3 separate regions of the Homo sapiens genome follow, and regions 2 and 3 are each linked to region 1. The links are contacts of gene promoters, found by promoter capture Hi-C in human tissues and cell types (Jung and others, 2019). All regions are on one chromosome and are shown on one strand. Each heading gives the region's core, a stretch centred on a gene start or on the middle of the fragment in contact. The rest is flanking DNA. Distances are from core to core; before and after follow the strand shown. Region 1 holds the start of GTPBP4 (GTP binding protein 4). Region 2 overlaps DIP2C (disco interacting protein 2 homolog C). Region 3 overlaps DIP2C (disco interacting protein 2 homolog C).

Region 1 (2,910 bases), core at 95-2,594:
CTAAAAGAAAGGGCAATAAGTATGAGCATAGCTTTGCTAATCTCGGAAATGGTGGCCAGAACTGTCCTGTGGTTTAGCAAATGATCATAGCCAGCAAATCCTAATTACCCTAGAAGCTTCCTTTAGAAGTGCCACAAAGATGTAGGAGGTATGCTTATCCGCCTTGTGACACAAAAATGGAAGCATAGTTAATAGATGAGAAAAGCATGACCCAGAATGATTTTCAATATTGGAATGCTGGGAATTTATGAGAGGTATTTTCGCGTAAGAATAATAGGACTTGTTTAAAAGGATTGGAGAGTGGGGGGCATCCCAGATGCGTGAGAAGCAGTATAGCTAATGGTTAGAAGCAGGTTTGCTGGAGCCAGGCTGCCTGGGTTCAAAGCCCACCTCTGCTGCCTGTTAGCTTGTCAGCTGCACAACCACGGGGTGCTTTCGAGCCTTGTGTGCCTTTGTTTCCCCATGCACTTCATGAGGCTGTTGCAGAAATTAAACGAGTTAATATATAGTCAGCAGCTCTGAACACTGCTTGACTGAGTCAGCCCTACCTAACGTTTAATTTAAGGGATGTGGCCCTGGGTTCCCAAAGGGAGCGGCCACTCTATTCACAAACATAAAAGCAGTAAAGGCTCCATCCTCATCAACCTTCTCCTCAGTTGGACCCCACAGGACTGTCTCTCGCAACTGTTCCCTGGGCTCTCCTAAGGCACTGCGCGGAACCAGCTGCACCTCTTTTGCCTTAGATCAGGCTTTCCCTTCTCCGCCCGTTTTGGGATTTAACAAGCACGAGAAAGCAGGGCTGCAGGGAAGCCGCGAGGGCCTCCTCACCACGGCCCGGGATCAAGTCCCACGCGCGAGGCCGGGGTAGGGGCGTCATCTGCTCCACACCCAGAGGCTGGGCACGCCCCGCACGCGCGGCTTCCTCCTCCTTTGCGGGGCTCGCCGCGACCCAGGACCCCCAGACTCCCGGATCCCCTAGACCCTCTGGACTCCTAAGCCCCGCAACTCCCAAATCCCAAGACCCCGGACCCTCCAACCCTGGCCCAGGGCGCGTGGCTGGGGGCCTGAACCCGCTCCAGAAACCCGCAGGGCAGTCTGTCGGAAACCCCCGCTTTACTCAGCAGGAATTTAGTCTCCGCGCTCCCCCTAAAACCCGGGCGTCCTCTCCTCTGTACCCTCGCTCCTGAGGCCCTCACACGCCCTCCGTGGCTGACCTCCAAGCCGGGCGGGTGCGCTGTGCGACGCGGAAAGCGCCGTAGAGCACGCAGAACACGATTGGCTGAGCTCCCGGAAGTGACGTACCTCAACCGCCCGACAGTGGAAGTCCCACCTGCGCCCGACGGCGGAAGTTCCGGGAGTGCCAAGTACCCGCGTGCATACGGCTGCCGGCATGGCACATTACAACTTCAAGAAAATTACGGTGGTGCCGTCCGCCAAGGTAGGCGGCCCCGGGAGGGCCACTGCAACTTTCGCGTTCTCCTCAGCTGGGTCCCCGGGGAGGGTCCGGGCCTGTAGCCGTGGGAGAGCGGTCGCCTTCCGCTCGCCCATCCCCCGCTCCTGGGCCTGACCGTCTGGCCGCGTACTCGGGATCATTTCCCCTCCCCCAGCAGAATCCGGGGTCCACCAGAGATCGGATCCCCCAGAGACCGGGGTCCACCTAAGACCGTGGTCCACCCAAAGACTGAGGGCCCCCAGAGATGGGGGTACACCCAGAGTTGGGTTCCCTGGAGGGGCCCCGGGTGACGATGTGGGCGAGTGGAGGGGGACCCCGACATGTGAGGGAGGAAGCGTTCCGTGGTCCGTGATGAGCCTTCGGATTCTGGGTTTGGCGTAGCCCCCTCCCCTCTCAGGAATCCTGGGTTCGTTGTTCTCGTGATTTAACGTTTCATAATTTTTAAGTCATTCTCTTTCACTGTTAGATTTGGGAATACCTGTTCCTTTTCAGACCATAGTAGGCCCAGACTAAATTTTTACAGCGTTGGTTGGTGTGGCAAGAATGAGTCAACAAGTGTTGAGTATTAGGACTTTTTTTTTTTTTTTTTTTTTTTGAGACATAGTTTTTCGCTCTTGTTTCCCAGGCTGGAGCGCAGTCTCGGCTCACTGCAACCTCCACCTCCCGCGTTCAAGCGATTCTCCTGCTTCAGCCTCCCGAGTAACAGGGATTACAGTCGTGCACCACCACACCCAGCTAATTTTCGTATTTTTAGTAGAGACGGGGTTTCACCACGTTGGCCAAGCTGGCCTCGAACTCCTGATCCCGGGTGATCCTCCCGCCCCGGCCTCCCAAAGTGCTGGAATTACAGGCGTGAGCCACTGCGCCCGGCCCTAGTATTAGGACTTTTAAGAAGTCACGTTTTTATGTAGTGAACATTCGATTTGGGTCGCAATTACACAGACATTGACGGGCAACTGGAGCCTCCCAGGGACTCCTGCACGAGAGGGAGTTACTGAAGTCCCTGCAGAGTGACTGTTTTCCCCTCGTCAGTGCCTCCTTTTCTTCAGGTCTCAAGGACGGGATGAGCTTGCCTTGGAAAGCTTTGTGGGAGTCTCGTATTTTACCTTCATAGCAAAAGTTGTTTCCCCACTTCTCTCCACCATTTCTTATTTCTTCCTGACAGTTGTTCTGGCACATCTCTTGATCGATTGTAGTATTTTCTTTCTTTCTTTTTGAGATGGAGTCTCGCTCTGTTGGCCAGGTTGGAGCGCAGTGGTGTGATCCTGACTGCAGCCACCGCCTCCCAGGTTCAAGTGATTTTCCTGCCTCAGCCTCCCGAGTAGCTGGGACTACAGGCATGCGCCACCAGGCCTGGCTAATTTTTGTATTTTCAGTAGAAGTGGAGTTTCACCATGTTGGCCAGACTGGTCTTGAACTCCTAATCTCAAGTGATTCACTTGCCTCAGCCTCCCAAA
Region 2 (2,752 bases), core at 46-2,545, 390 kb before region 1:
AAGAGAACTGAAAGAATGAAATGATTTTGCATCTACCTTGAAGCCTTTTTAGAACAAGGCAGGACACAAACTTTTAAAAAGCTCCAGTTGTCCCTCCATCTACACAGGGACATCGGTTCCAGGACACCCCGGGTTTACCGAAATCCACGCGTCCGCAGGACCCGCGCCCACCCTGTGGAGCTGCATGTAGGAAATGTCGGCCCTCCACAAAGTCAGGTTTTTTCAATAAGGGTTTGGTTGGGAAAAAAAATTAACGTAAATGATCCTTCGAAGCTCAAGCCCATGTTGTTCAGGGTCAGCCGCACTTACTACTTGTGTCATAATCTGAGGCCTGACAGCCATCGTTCTTGATAAAGGGATGGTTAACAAACTAACTGTTCTGATTAGAAAGCGGAGGAAAAAGCTTATTTTTAAGCCGACAAAGAGTGGACACTGCTATGGTGAATGGAAAACAGACGTAAATAAGCACCAAGGCTGGGGTGACTGCCTGTGCTCAGACCCACTAAGGCCTGTTCCTCCGCCTCCCTCTGCTCAAACGGATAACTCCTTCCCCACGGCTAAAGGACCTTTTTTAAAGATTCACGCGAGAAGTGCTATGAAAAGCTGAAAGGTCACAGATAACGTTTTAAAAAATAAAAGTAACCTAAGTATTGAACAAGCCCATTATAAATGATAAAAAATGATATTAAGTTGCTGGGTGCGGTGGCTCACGCCTGTAATCCCAGCACGTTGGGTGGCCAAGGTGGGTGCATCACCTGAGATCAGGACTTTAAGACCAGCCTGGCCAACATGGTGAAACCCCATCTCTAACGAAAATTAGCCGGGCGCAGGTGCCTGTAATCCCAGCTACTTGGGAGGCTAAAGGAGGAGAATCACTTGAACCTGGGAGGGAGAGGTTGCAGTGAGCCGAGATCATGCCATTGCACTTCAGCCTGGGCGACCAGTGCGAAACTCCATCTCAAAAAAAAAAAAAAAAAAAAAAAAAAAAAAGTATTAAGTTTTCCTTCCAATGAACCTATCATTCTGCCACCGAGGTATCCTATAGGTACTTATTCAGCCATGAGATACATCACAGGAGACGTAGGTGAATAGGACACAGTTCCTCCCTGACAGAAGGCTGCACCCCAAGGAAGGAAGGCACATACTGTGAATGGAATCGGCATAGGGAACAGATGCTGCGGGAAGTGGAACTGGCTTCACAGAGCACCCGGCTCAAGCGTCTGAGAAATAAGGAGCCATTGGTGGCATCACCTGTGCCTGAGCTGGGGTGGTGGGGAGCCTGTCATCACCACCACTGCCCAGGACAAAGACACCCAGAACCACACAATGAGCTTTCAAGCTCACCAAGGCGATGACTGAGCAATGCGCATAGTGACGCGAACATGCAGACATGAGGGCCACACGTGGCATTGGTTTTGTGTATCGACCTGAGTGGGCCCCGGGGTGCCCAGGTGGCTGGTTCTGCATTATTTCTGTGTGAGATGTGTGTTTGCCTCTGGACTGAGTGGAGACTAAGTGGAGACCCATCCTCGCCAGTGTAGGGGGCACCACCCTGTCCACCCAGGGCTCCAGGGCTCGAGTAAAACAGCAAGGCGGGGAAGGCTGGGCTCGCTCCACCTGTCTGGCTGCAGGCCAGTGGCATCCGTCTTCTGCCCCCGGTGCTCCTGGGTCTCAGCTCCTCAGACCTGGGTGGGATCTGCACCCTCCGCTTCTCAAGCCTTTGAGCCACACCCTCCCAGGCCTCCAGGTTGCAGGCAGTGGGTCCTGGGGCTTCTTGGCCTCCGTAGCCCCTGCAGCAAGCCTCCCCCTGGACACACACACACCGGGCTGGCTCTGTCTCTCTGGAGAGCCCTGACTAAGCTGCCCCTAGAAGTGGTCTTCAGAGTTTCCTTCTAGCCCCAATATCCCAGTGCCCCCCTACAATTCTAGGTGGAAAGGTGAATGGAGACCTGGTGAATGGAGACCAATGGACAGAGGTGTGTGCCGAGGACACGCTGGGCAGCAGGGCTGGGCAGGAGTGCACTAACGCTGTCACTATGCAAAGAATCAATGTCACTTGCCACAAAAATGAGAACAGTAAAGATTCCTTCAAACAGAAATGAGTTTGTTTCATGATTTGCTCTTAATACGTAAGAAATCATAAAAGTAGGCCTACTAACAATTACGTAAGTCTTCAGAGGCTCCTGAACTACTTCTGTCCCTTCATGTTTTTATACAAAATAAGCTTGAGGTTAAAGAGAATAACGTCACTGGCCACAGCTGGGGCCACACGAGGACACAGCTTACACCCATGAGGTCCTAGGGGTCCTGAGTCCTTTCCTGGCTATTTATGGAAATACGGGAGAAACCAGGAGGTCTGAACGTGGACCTGGCCATGCCCCCAGGGGCCAAGGAAAGCACCCATCTGTCCACTCTTCCCTCTACCCCACGGTTCCCTACCTGGACTCTGGGGCTGACGTGGCTTCATGCACTCAGCAGCGCCATCATTAAACGTTTAGGAGGGCCTCCTCTAACCACCGCTGGACCTGCAGAGTCAGCACAAGTCTGCAGGACACGCGTGGACAAGGCTGATGGATCACGGCCTCCCACGAGGAAAGTGCCAGGCAAAGAGTCGGAGACACCAGGGATGGAGCAGCACTCACTGGGGGAGGCCAAGGCCGGCACCGGCCACCACCAAGGGCCACGAGGGCCTCCCTCCCCACCCCAAGGGCAGCTCACCCAGGAAGGTGAAAGCCGGCACCGGCCACCAAGG
Region 3 (2,700 bases), core at 153-2,652, 450 kb before region 1:
ACAACGCAGCACCATCCTCACACAATTATCTCAGGTGTGTTTGAGGGCAAGTGCCCCCGTCACAGGGGGAAAGCTGCCCGGCCCAGCACTTCCTGAGATCACACAGAGCTTCCACCTTCCCACATCTTCAATAGTTCCTTTACACTGGGAACCAGAGAGCAAAACCTAAAACACTTCCTCAAATCTCAAGACAGTCTTGAGTCCTCTTCTCCTTGCCCCTTCTCTCACTGAAAAAGCCTATTCTATAAGCAATCTGTAGTGCTTACCAGAGCTGGGGTAGGAGGAAAGCTAGTGTTTGGTAGACCAAGTTTCAAGCTTGGGGAGACCAAGAATATGGCGGTGATCGTGGCATGACAGTGTGAACGCACTTAATGCCACCAAATCGTACACTTAAAAATGGTCACAGTGCTATGTAATTTTACCACAATAAAAAGACTAACTGAGAAAAGTAATCTCTAATTACTGTCTGCCATTTCTTGCATCCTGTAAGGTGCATTTGCTTTTGGAAATCCTCAGAGCAATCATGAAAGACTAATACCCTGTCATCTCTGAAACACAGGTAAAGTCTTTCAAGGGTTTTGATTATAGTAAAGTAGCTGGAAAGCAAAGCATGCATTAGACACAGCAGCCGTGATAGGACAAACACATGGTAGGAAGGTGGTGGTCGTGCTACACGCAGATGGGGAAGGATGTGGGGAGCCACAACACCCGATGCTGGGGAGCCACAACACCCGATGCTGGGGAGCCACAACACCCGATGCTGGGGAGCCACAACACCCGATGCTGGGGAGCCACAACACCCGATGCTGGGGAGCCACAACACCCGATGCTGGGGAGCCACAACACCCGATGCTTGGGAGGCACCTGGGCAGGAGCTGAGAATGTACCAAACACGTTCTACCACGCAACATTCATGGACCCTGAGTCCGGCCACCACCGCCGACATCCACTCTGGCTGAGGTGTCCTCTGTCACAGACACACACACCCTGCCGAGGACAGTGCACAGGTTAAATGTCAAAGCACAGACATGCTCAGGTCCAGCTGCTCAGCCAAAAGCAAAAACACATTTCCCAGACACCACAGCTTGACCTTCCACCTGACCACACCCATCTCTCCTGCACCCCACATCGTGACCCTCCACCCGACCACACCCGTCTCTCCTGGACCCCCCCGAGTGACCCTCCACCCCCATATCTCTCCTGGATCCCACAGCATGACCCTCCACACTGACCACACCCATCTCTCCTCGACCCCACAGTGTGACCCTCCACCTGAACACCCCCATCTCTCCTGGATCCCACAGCGTGACCCTCCACATGACCACACCCATCTCTCCTGGACCCCACAGCGTGACCCTCCACCCGACCACACCCGTCTCTCCTGGAACCCCAAGAGTGACCCTCCACCTGACCACCCCCATCTCTCCTGGATCCCACAGCATGACCCTCCACACTGACCACACCCATCTCTCCTGGACCCCACAGCGTGACCCTTCACCTGACCACACCTGTCTCTCCTAGACCCCACAGCATGACCCTCCACCTGACTGCACCCTGTCTAGTGCATCCCTGCACCTGTCTCTCGGCCCCCCTCACCTCACTTCCTCACCTTCTCGTCGGGTCAAGCACCAACAATCCGCTGTGTGCCTGGTGCACTGAGCCTTGTCAGGGGCCTCTGGGCCGCGTGCCAGGACACGCCCCTGGGGACTCCCAGTGCACACGTTGGTCTCCTGCACACTTGGCTCTTCTATCTGCGGGAGCCGGCACCCACCCCTACAACTGACTGCACTCTCAGAAAAGTCCCAGAAGACCCCTCACCAACCCAGCAACACCTTGAGGCCACATCCCACTTGCCTGCTGGCTCCTGAACCTCCCCCACCCTGTGACGGCTCACTCCCTCCTGAGCTCCTTCTGCTCCCTGCCTGCCTCTGCGAGTTACCTCCTGGGCGATGCCAGGTGACGGTAACATCAACCAGGAGGCACTGCTGAGAAGCAGAAAGCATGGTGCAGTGCCCAGAACGTCATGTCCCTCAACAGATGCTCTATGTCTTCTCCTCCTCTCCTGGCAGAGCTTTGCTGTAGGAAGAAGGCCATTCCTCCAGTGCTGCTACTTCCAACACTGGGGAAAACAAGCTTCAGAAAGGAACGGTGTCAAAGAGGCAGGACCCACCAGCAGGACTGCCAGCGGCCAGACGACCACAGCCCCAGCATTCCCCAGCCACTACGGCCGACAGCCCAGGCTCCAGAAATGCACAGCTTCAACCTTCAGAGTAAAAACCCTCCCAAGCCAACTATTTCTTCAACAATCGGATTGGGGAATGGAGGGTTCTAACCCTGCCCCTCTCTATACCACAGATCATCAGATCCCAGTTCTTATCAGATTGGGAAGTGGGGGGTTCTGACCCTGTCCCTCTCTATACCACAGGTCATCAGATCCCAGTTCTTATCGGATTGGGGAGTGGGGGGTTCTGACCTTGTCCCTCTCTATACCACAGGTCACCAGATCCCAGTTCTTATCAGATTGGGGAGTGGGGGGTTCTGACCCTCCCCCCTTCTCTATACCACAGATCATCAGATCCCAGTTCTTACGGGATTGGGGAGTGGGGGGTTCTGACCCTGCCTCTCTATATACCACAGATCATCAGATTCTAGTTCTTTTCTAAGCCCAGCACTTTGCTTCTGCCACATGCAGTCATCCTC

The links. Contacts are between HindIII fragments. The study calls those that stand out against the background at their distance.
Region 2: a contact is called between a fragment that was not itself captured here and the fragment with the promoter of GTPBP4 in region 1, in 1 of the 25 tissues and cell types used here (dorsolateral prefrontal cortex).
Region 3: a contact is called between a fragment that was not itself captured here and the fragment with the promoter of GTPBP4 in region 1, in 1 of the 25 tissues and cell types used here (dorsolateral prefrontal cortex).

What each region holds. Positions count from the first base shown.
Region 1 is chr10:987,090-989,999 of GRCh38, forward strand. It overlaps GTPBP4 (GTP binding protein 4), which reads left to right and starts at 1,345. Exons shown (of 17, transcript NM_012341.3): 1 at 1,345-1,438. The coding sequence starts at 1,391. It also overlaps a transcript of LARP4B not described here. The HindIII fragment of the contact is 8,297 bases long and covers 1-2,910 here.
Region 2 is chr10:595,537-598,288 of GRCh38, forward strand. All of the region lies in intron 1 of DIP2C (disco interacting protein 2 homolog C), which reads right to left. Among named protein-coding and RNA genes, the nearest start is that of DIP2C-AS2, 32 kb to the right of the region's middle. The HindIII fragment of the contact is 4,963 bases long and covers 1-2,752 here.
Region 3 is chr10:540,289-542,988 of GRCh38, forward strand. The region is part of intron 1 of DIP2C (disco interacting protein 2 homolog C); the gene reads right to left. Among named protein-coding and RNA genes, the nearest start is that of DIP2C-AS2, 87 kb to the right of the region's middle. RefSeq lists an enhancer at 1,452-1,952. The HindIII fragment of the contact is 5,024 bases long and covers 1-2,700 here.